3 separate regions of the Homo sapiens genome follow, and regions 2 and 3 are each linked to region 1. Evidence: promoter capture Hi-C in 16 types of primary human blood cells and fetal thymus (Javierre and others, 2016). All regions are on one chromosome and are shown on one strand. The core of a region is centred on a gene start or on the middle of the fragment in contact, and the rest is flanking DNA. Distances in the headings are between cores, read along the strand shown. Region 1 holds the start of ZNF692 (zinc finger protein 692). Region 2 has its middle 20 kb from the start of PGBD2. Region 3 has its middle 20 kb from the start of LYPD8.

Evidence for each region. The method cuts DNA at HindIII sites, captures the fragments that hold promoters and counts their contacts. A CHiCAGO score of 5 or more calls a contact.
Region 2: a fragment that was not itself captured here is called in contact with the fragment with the promoter of ZNF692 in region 1 in 2 of 17 cell types (erythroblasts and fetal thymus); the score reaches 7.5 in erythroblasts.
Region 3: a contact is called between a fragment that was not itself captured here and the fragment with the promoter of ZNF692 in region 1, in 5 of 17 cell types (neutrophils, M2 macrophages, monocytes and 2 more). The highest score is 13.3, in neutrophils.

What each region holds. Positions count from the first base shown.
Region 1 is chr1:248,857,835-248,860,534 of GRCh38, reverse strand. It overlaps ZNF692 (zinc finger protein 692), which reads left to right and starts at 1,450. Exons shown (of 12, transcript NM_017865.4): 1 at 1,450-1,617; 2 at 2,214-2,404; 3 at 2,676-2,700. The coding sequence starts at 2,226. It overlaps ZNF692-DT (ZNF692 divergent transcript), which reads right to left and starts at 1,371. Exons shown (of 3, transcript NR_186117.1): 1 at 1,289-1,371. RefSeq lists enhancers at 966-1,115, 1,916-1,965, 2,566-2,645 and a silencer at 1,256-1,755. The HindIII fragment of the contact is 15,686 bases long and covers 1-2,700 here.
Region 2 is chr1:248,924,920-248,927,619 of GRCh38, reverse strand. It overlaps a transcript of PGBD2 not described here. Among named protein-coding and RNA genes, the nearest start is that of PGBD2, 20 kb to the right of the region's middle. RefSeq lists a silencer at 2,108-2,277. The HindIII fragment of the contact is 545 bases long and covers 1,097-1,641 here.
Region 3 is chr1:248,734,453-248,737,181 of GRCh38, reverse strand. No RefSeq gene overlaps it. Among named protein-coding and RNA genes, the nearest start is that of LYPD8, 20 kb to the left of the region's middle. The HindIII fragment of the contact is 3,366 bases long and covers 1-2,729 here.

The sequences.
Region 1 (2,700 bases), core at 201-2,700:
CACCATTAGAAGCTAGAAGAAGCAAGGAAAGGATTCTCCCCTAGAGCCCTTACAATGGCCTGTGGCCCTGCTGATGCCTTGGCCTCCAGAACTGTGAGAAAATAAATTTGAGTAAAGGGAGCAAGTTTGTGGCTGAAAACAACACACAACACAATTTGTTACAACAATTACAGAAAATTAATACCAGTGGCTTGGAGTAGGGTTTTAGCAGTTGAGAGGGTCAGAAGTGATTGGATTTAAGATAAATTTTTGGAGACAGGACCAACAAGATTTGCTGATGTATATGGTTTAGGTATCATAAAAGGCAAAGAATCAAGGCTGATTCCCTTTTTTCTGAACAAGTGGGTGGATGATGACATAGTTTACTGGCATGGGGGAGGGTACAGGCGTTATTGTTATATGTTTGCCATATTTATGTTGGAGAAAATATCAGCTATCATGTGTCAGCGCTCTCTACATGCCAGGCACTGTCCTACATTCTTTACACGTGTTAGCTCAGTTAACACATGTAAGTCAAGCGGGCAGTAAGATATATGACTGGAGTTGAAAGAGGGCTAGGCTAGGAGCCATCAGTGTATTTAAAGCCATGGAACTAATTAGATCACCCAGGAGAACATATGCAGACGAGAGAAGATCTGGTTCAAGGCCTGAGCCAGGGCACACTTCATCTTTTGGCAGAACAGAGGGAATGGATCCAAAAAAAGGATAGAAGGAGCCAGTGAGGAGGGTGGAAAACCTGGAGCATATGAAGTCACAGAAGTAAAACTGGGGCCCAAAATGTAGAGGGAGCCATAAAGATGAGGAGGACGAGAGCTACATAGTCGCGCTCTTTCTAGGGCAGAGAGGCGGACGGAACTGACAGCTGCTATGTAGCAATATGACCGTCTCAAGTGACCTTGTGAAGCGCCACTGCAGTGGCTGGGTGGGGAGGAAAGCTCCATCAGAGCCATTTGAAGAGAAGAGGATGGGAAGTGAGCGTACACAGAGAATGCAGGCAACTTTTAGGAGGAATTCTGATGGTAATAGAAGTGGGCTGTAGCTGGTGGGACTCTGCGGTCCACAGAGGGCTCTAGCTGGACCCTCTGTGGGTCTTTCAAAGTGACTGATTCTGCATCATGTTTGCGGGTGGCAACTGTGAGGGGGAAATCGAAGGTGAATACAAAACGGGAACAAGTGAAGAGGCAACGTCCCCATACAGGCCGGGTGGGCTGGGGTTGGAGCACAGGAGGCCTGACCCTGTCTCTTCCACTTTCCCTCAAACCTTTGGTCACCAAGCGCAGACGCTCACCACAGAAGCCACCCAACCACAACTGCCGCGGGGCTCCGCGACACGCGCGGGCGACTTGAGTCGGGCAACCACGATTCCCGGCGGGCGTTGCGCGGGGCACCCAGTGCGCAGGCGCACGGCGTCGGCCTCCGACTCGCCCCTCCCTCTGGGGCGCGGGCCTCAGTTCCGGGCTACAGCAGCCGACGCCGAGAGGCACCGTTTCTTCTTAAAAGAGAAACGCTGCGCGCGCGAGGTGGGCCCCTGTCTTCCAGCAGCTCCGGGCCTGCTCGCTAGGCCCGGGAGGCGCAGGCGCAGGCGCAGTGGGGGTGAGGGCGCGTGGGGGCGCACAGGTAAGGCCGGGGTGGGGGTGGGTCGCGACGGGGGCTCTGGGCAGCCTGGGAACTGCCATTGGGATTAGTCCGCTCCACTCACTGTCAGCATTAAGTGGGGGTGCCCAAGACGGGGTGGATGGGGGGCGCCCTCCAGACCTCTGACCACGGCCTCACCGCCACTCGACCCAACTATGAAGAGCGCCCCCAGCTGCACGCCAGGACACGACCTTTCCTTCCCCTAGAAACCAGTAAAGGCCGCTGCCCTATTCAAGATGAAATGTGTGGACCGCCCCCAGCCCAGTTGAAATTTCCCGTGAAAGTCTCTCGCCCCTTCCCCACAGCTCCACTTCAGTGGACTGGAGGGCGCAGGCCTTTGTTCTGACTGCTTCTGTCTGCCTGCCTCCCACCCGACGACACTCACATGGTAGCGCTGAGCTTCAACACCCTGTATCATAGAAGGACGGGGTTTGGCTCCACACCTGCCACTGCTATTGAAATAGTTTAGTCTTGCCCCAGTTCACTGATGAGGAAACTGAGGCCCTAACGGCAGGTGGAGCCGGGTCCCCGACCCCCGAGATCGGCAGGGCGCTGAAGACGTCCCTTCCACCCTCCAGCCTCTGGTGCACATGGCTTCCTCCCCGGCGGTGGACGTGTCCTGCAGGCGGCGGGAGAAGCGGCGGCAGCTGGACGCGCGCCGCAGCAAGTGCCGCATCCGCCTGGGCGGCCACATGGAGCAGTGGTGCCTCCTCAAGGAGCGGCTGGGCTTCTCCCTGCACTCGCAGCTCGCCAAGTTCCTGTTGGACCGGTTAGGGGCCGGGAGAAGGGCTTGGGGGAGGGTACCCAGGCAGCAGCCCCTAGCCTCCTCTCCAGGGCCTGTCCTGCTGCTCTTTTCCACCCTCAGGTTTCTCACTTTACCAGGACGGCCTGTGTGACTTGTGGCCTCCGAGGGTCCTGCTCCCCTCCTCATGGTCTCAGCGAATAGCGGCCCTTAGGGCTGGCCCCTTACATGTGTGAGTGCCCAGGGCTGAGGGTGGCTGGCCACCTGAGTCCTGACCTGCCTCTTCTCCTGCTGGCAGGTACACTTCTTCAGGCTGTGTCCTC
Region 2 (2,700 bases), core at 120-2,619, 67 kb before region 1:
GTTGTAATGTGACACAGCCACATACATGTGTTATATAATGTCTCTGGCTACTTTCATGGTATAATGGAAGAGCTGAGTCATTGAGAGAGGGACCACATGGCTTGGAAAACTTAAAATATTTAACATTTAGCCCTTTGCAGAAAATATTTGCTGACTCTTGTTTTAAAAGATCTCTGTTTAGAATGCTACCTATTGCCTTCTGCATAGAATCACAACTCTACCACAATCGACACAGCTTCAGCCCTGCTTCTATATCCAGCATCATCTATTATTTCTGCTCCTCCTCCTTATTTTCCTTCTGGCCATGCTGATGGATTGTCAGCTTCCCAGATGTGCGAGAATCTCTCCTCCCTTCCCGACATTCTCATGCTCTCCCTCTGCCTCTCAAGAACTCCCTGTCCCATCTCTCATGACAAATCTCTTCTTCATTCTTTAAGATGCAGCCCCTTTGCTCCTTCCTTAAGGATGTCTGTCTGGCTCTATTTTGGGCGACATACTCCTTCTGCATCTCCCAGAGCCAGCCTTTGTGTGTCAGCTACAGCATTTCTTTGCATCTCTGTGCCATATATCACCAAATCTGCCTAAGCTTGCATGAGTCACTGCATGACAACTTCAGACTCCACTATCATTGTCTCCACTAACCACGAGGCTGAGACATTTGTCCAGTATGCTCGGGGTTGTGGGGTGGTAGCAGTAACCAGCTGGTGAGCATCATCTCTTATATCAGAATCAAATCTGTAGATCTCTGCCATTCATAGGTATTTGGAGTTTAAAATTAGCATAAAGATTTTCCTTAAAATAAGAACATATGGCTTGAGTAGGCTTTTGGAACATAGGATATTTCTGCTGGTTCATTTCAGTGTTCAGTATTCCCACATGAATCTAAACACGACTCTGCTCTTAGTAGCTGTGCGACCCTGGGAAAGTCACTCCATCTTCCTCAGCTAAATTTTGTTGTGTGAGTAATGAGAAGAGAGTTGTGGTTTGTGTTTAGTGAGTAATAACAAACAAAAGGCATTTAGCTTTCTGGAACCTGGTATGCAGTAGATCTTCATGAAATACTAGCTCTGTTGATAAAACTAGACCAAAAGAAGCTTTCAAAGTCAACAACAGTATCATGCAGTGAAGGACGTAGACGAGAAGCTGCTACTACAGCTTGCAGCTCCTGGAGGCCCATTTTGTCCATGACTTAGCAGGAATGCACTACCTTTCCATAAGGAGACACTGCCCACAGAAACCAAGGCCATTCTTTGAAGACAAATATGTTTTAATAGCCTTTACATTATGTAATAGTGTAATATAATTTATTAATAATAATGTAAAATTATTTACATTATTATGTTACAACTTTTGTACAGAGCTTTACACCTAGATATTCTGAAGTTGGTGGTCTGTGAGTGGCATCAAGTGATGACCGACACACTCTGACCTGGGGTAGAACAACACGTGTCCCTGCAGTTTGCTGAATTTCAGGGCATCACCACCTTTTTTCAGCTCCACAGAGAACAGCAGCACCTCGAGGGACAGATGTGCAAAAAGCAAGGTGGAGGCCCTTCTGCTGGAGAGGCGGCTGGGGAGGGTCCTTAGAGGAAGTGACAGCTGAGCTCTTCTCTGAAGGGTGAAGCTGAATTACTTGAAGCTTAGGGTGAAGGGGTGTCCAGAGAAGTGGAGCCTGTGAGCCAAAAGCATAATGACTTGTCCAGAGAAGTGTAACAAGTTCCATATTGTTTCTATGCCAAATCTGTACAGGAGTCACCAAAGGAAAGAGCAGGATCCTGGAGCCAGGGCCTTGGAACTCCCCCGCTGGCAATGGGAATGTTCACTGGGAATTTTGGGGGGCAAAATCTGAAAATGTTTCCTCTTAGCTCCAATTCTCTGTCTGTCTATTTCTGTCCCTCTCTCTTTCCCTTATTATCCTAAGAAAACACAGATGTCTCAGATGTGGGGATTAGCAGCCTGCCTCTTCCTGGATGACTTCAGGGGAGCACTTTGGCCTCTGTGAACTTATTTACAATAATTCACGAATCTCGCCAAAAAAAAAAAAAAAAAGTCATGGTAGCAGAGGTTAGAAAATATCCTAGTATTTCTTCTGATGCTTTGAATTTATGATTAATATGTTGAATCTTCATCTTCTGAAAAGCCACCGGTTGCACAGTGAGGACCATAAAGGGAGTCTGTTTCTGTGGTTTGTGGCTTCAACAGTCAGCGGTTTTGCAGCAATAGCATTACATGTGGGTTTTAGAATGATGATGCTCAACAGTGGACAATTCTCTTCCCCTGCCTGGGCCCCACTGCCCGCCCTTCCATACAGTGCGGGGTCACAGCTGAGCTCTCTGAGACACCTCGCAGGATCTCGGCTTCTGAACTATCAAGTGTCTTCTAGGTGAGGTCTTGGTCTCATAGTCTTTGTGGCTTCCTCCAGGTAACACTTGGTTTTTTGACCTAACCTTGGTATTTGTGTGACACACGTGTGAATGTGCTCCCTGTGGCAGCGCTGAGGAAGGACTCAGTCATCACAGATGCCAAAAGGCAAATGCAATGTGCTTTTTTCCAACATATCCAGTCTTGCATTTTTACCCATCAGCCCATTTGAAAAAGAAAAAAAAAAGCCCTCCGTTAGAATTAAATCCCCTCTGGAGATAATGTGTATTTTTTACATCTTTCACTTTTTTTATAGTCACATTTGCTCCCAGTGCCTGC
Region 3 (2,729 bases), core at 59-2,558, 120 kb after region 1:
GAACTGCAAAGGGTCACATGGGAGCCTGCCTGAAGGACAAGTAGGACCAGAGCCCAGGAGGCCTCCACAGCATTGTAGATGACTCTGGCTTTAGATTGAAGGCCATGGGGAGTCAATGTATAGTTAAGTGAGATAGTAAGAGTGGATTGGGTTTCCATTCTGGGAAGATTGCCTAGACTGCAGGATGAAGGTAGAAAGACAGGGCAGCAAGAAAGTTAAACAGAAGTAGTGGGTACTGCCCAGGGGTAGATGCTTTTCATCCCATTAATGGAGTATAAACTAGTACCCTAATGTACTTCCATTTGCATTACTGGCTCCCACCTCCTTACCCAGAGCAGGGAATTGAGCAGAGTGCCACTCCTGCCCGTGTGTCTACCTTTTTTTCCTCCTGGCTCTTCATGCTTAACTCTAGACTCCTGTCCTCTGGCCCCTGAGCCGGGTCTCATACTTTGCACCTAAGCTAAAGCCCCTTACTGGCAATTCTTCATTAGACCCAGCCTGGGGTCTAGGATAAGCCCCCATATCTGAGAAACTCCACAGAATTCTACACTCACACTGTGTGGCTGGACTAATGACAGTGGCCTTGTCTTTCCACAGTACTTTAAAATTTGTAAAGTTCTTTTGCCCATGTTGGTTTATTTTATTTAGAATGAAATTGTATACACAATCACATTTTAGGCAGGATTTACATACAATAAAATGTATGTGTGCAGTCTGATGGGTATCACCAAACTTGCCCTTGTAACTACCCTCCACCCCAGTGAAGACATGAAAGCCTCTCCAGTAGTTCCCCTGGGCTGCTACGCAGCTCACTCCACGCTAGCCCCAGGCATCTCCACTCTCCCCTCCTGAAATGACAGGCAACACCCTGCTCACAACCCATTGAGTTCAGCATTCACTCAGCAACACCCAGGCTCAAGACAACAGGCAGAATAGTCCCCAGGGGTCAGATTTTCCCAGCAACAATTCTGCCTCATGGAAGGGGTTAGGATAAGGTACTGTTTCCATCAGACCCCCAAGCCCTTTTGACCCCTTCTCACTGCCTCAGCCAGGAAGACAAAAGGAGGGTGTAGGGTTCCTTTCTTTGTGCTCAAGACTGGGTTTAGCACGTCTGAGCTAAAAGTTTCTTGAACTAAATCTCCAAATAACCTTTAATCTGAAATATAAATTGAACCAAAGTAAAAACCACTTATCACTATGTGTCTTCAATGTACATTTTCAATATATATATAATAATTGTGCATATAATATTTATGGGGTACATGTGATATTTTGATACATGCATATAATATATAATGATCAAATCCAGGTAATTGGGATATTCGTCACCTCAGACTTTTATCAATTTTTTTGTATTGGGAACATCACAAATCTTCCTCTTTAGCTATTTTGAAATACAAAAATTATAGCCCACTGTGCTGTTGAACACAAGGACTTAGTCCTTCTATTGAAATGTATTTTTGTTACCCATTAACCAACCTCTCTTTATTCCTACCTCCCCCCACCTTAACTAATCTCCGTTAATCTCCATTCTACTCTTTATATCCATGAGATAAACTTTGTTAGCTCCCACATGAGTGAAAACATGGAATATTTGTCTTTTCATGCCTGGCTTATTTCACTTAACATACATTCATCATCTTTTCATGATAAACCCTTGACAAATGGGGTATAGAAGGAACACACCTCAAAACAATCAAGGTAATACATGACAAATCCACAGTTAACATCCAACTAACATCCAGCTTTTCCTCTAAGATCTGGTACAAGACAAGGATGTTCACTGTCACCACTTTTATTCAATGCAGTACTGAAAGTTCTAGCCCAAGCAATTAGACAAGAGAAAGAAATAAAGGACATTCAAAATAGAAAAAAAATAAGTCAGGCGGATGCAGTGGCTCATGCCTGTAATCCCAGCACTTTAGGAGGCTGAGGCAGGCAGATCACGAGGTCAGGAGATCGGGACCATCCTGGCTAACATGGTGAAACCCCGTCTCTACTAAAAAATACAAAGAAATTAGCCAGGCATGGTGGTGGGCGCCTGTAGTCCCAGCTACTCGGGAGGCTGAGGCAGGAGAATGGCATAAACCCAGGAGGTGGAGCTTGCAGTGAGCCAAGATGGCGCCACTGCACTCCAGCCTGGGTGACAGATCGAGACTCCATCTCAAATAAAAAGAAGAAAAAAAAATAAGTCAAATTGTCCTTGTTTGCAGATGACATGATCTTATATTTAGAAAAACCTTAAGAATACGCCAAAAACTGTTAGAATTGCTAAATGAACTCAGTAAAGTTGGAGGCTACAAATTCAACACGCAAAAATCAGTAGCATTTCTATTTGCTAATAGTGAACAATCTGAAAAAATCAAGAAAGCAGTTTAATTCATAATGACTACAAAAAAAAAAACCTAGAAATGAATTTAACCAGAGTTGAAAGAGCTCTACAATGAAAACTATAAAACACTAATGAAAGAACTTAAAGAGGGCACAGAAAAAAAAAATGAAAAGATATCCCGTGTTCATAGACTGGAAGAATTAATATTGTTAAAGTGTCTGTACTACTCAAAGCAATCTACAGATTCAATGCAATCCTTATCAAAATACCAATGACATTCTTCACAGATATAGAAAAAGCAATTAAATTCATATGAAACCACAAAAGACCCTATATAGCCAAAGCAATCCTGAGAAAAAAGAACAAAGCCAGAGTCATCACACCACCTTACTTCAAA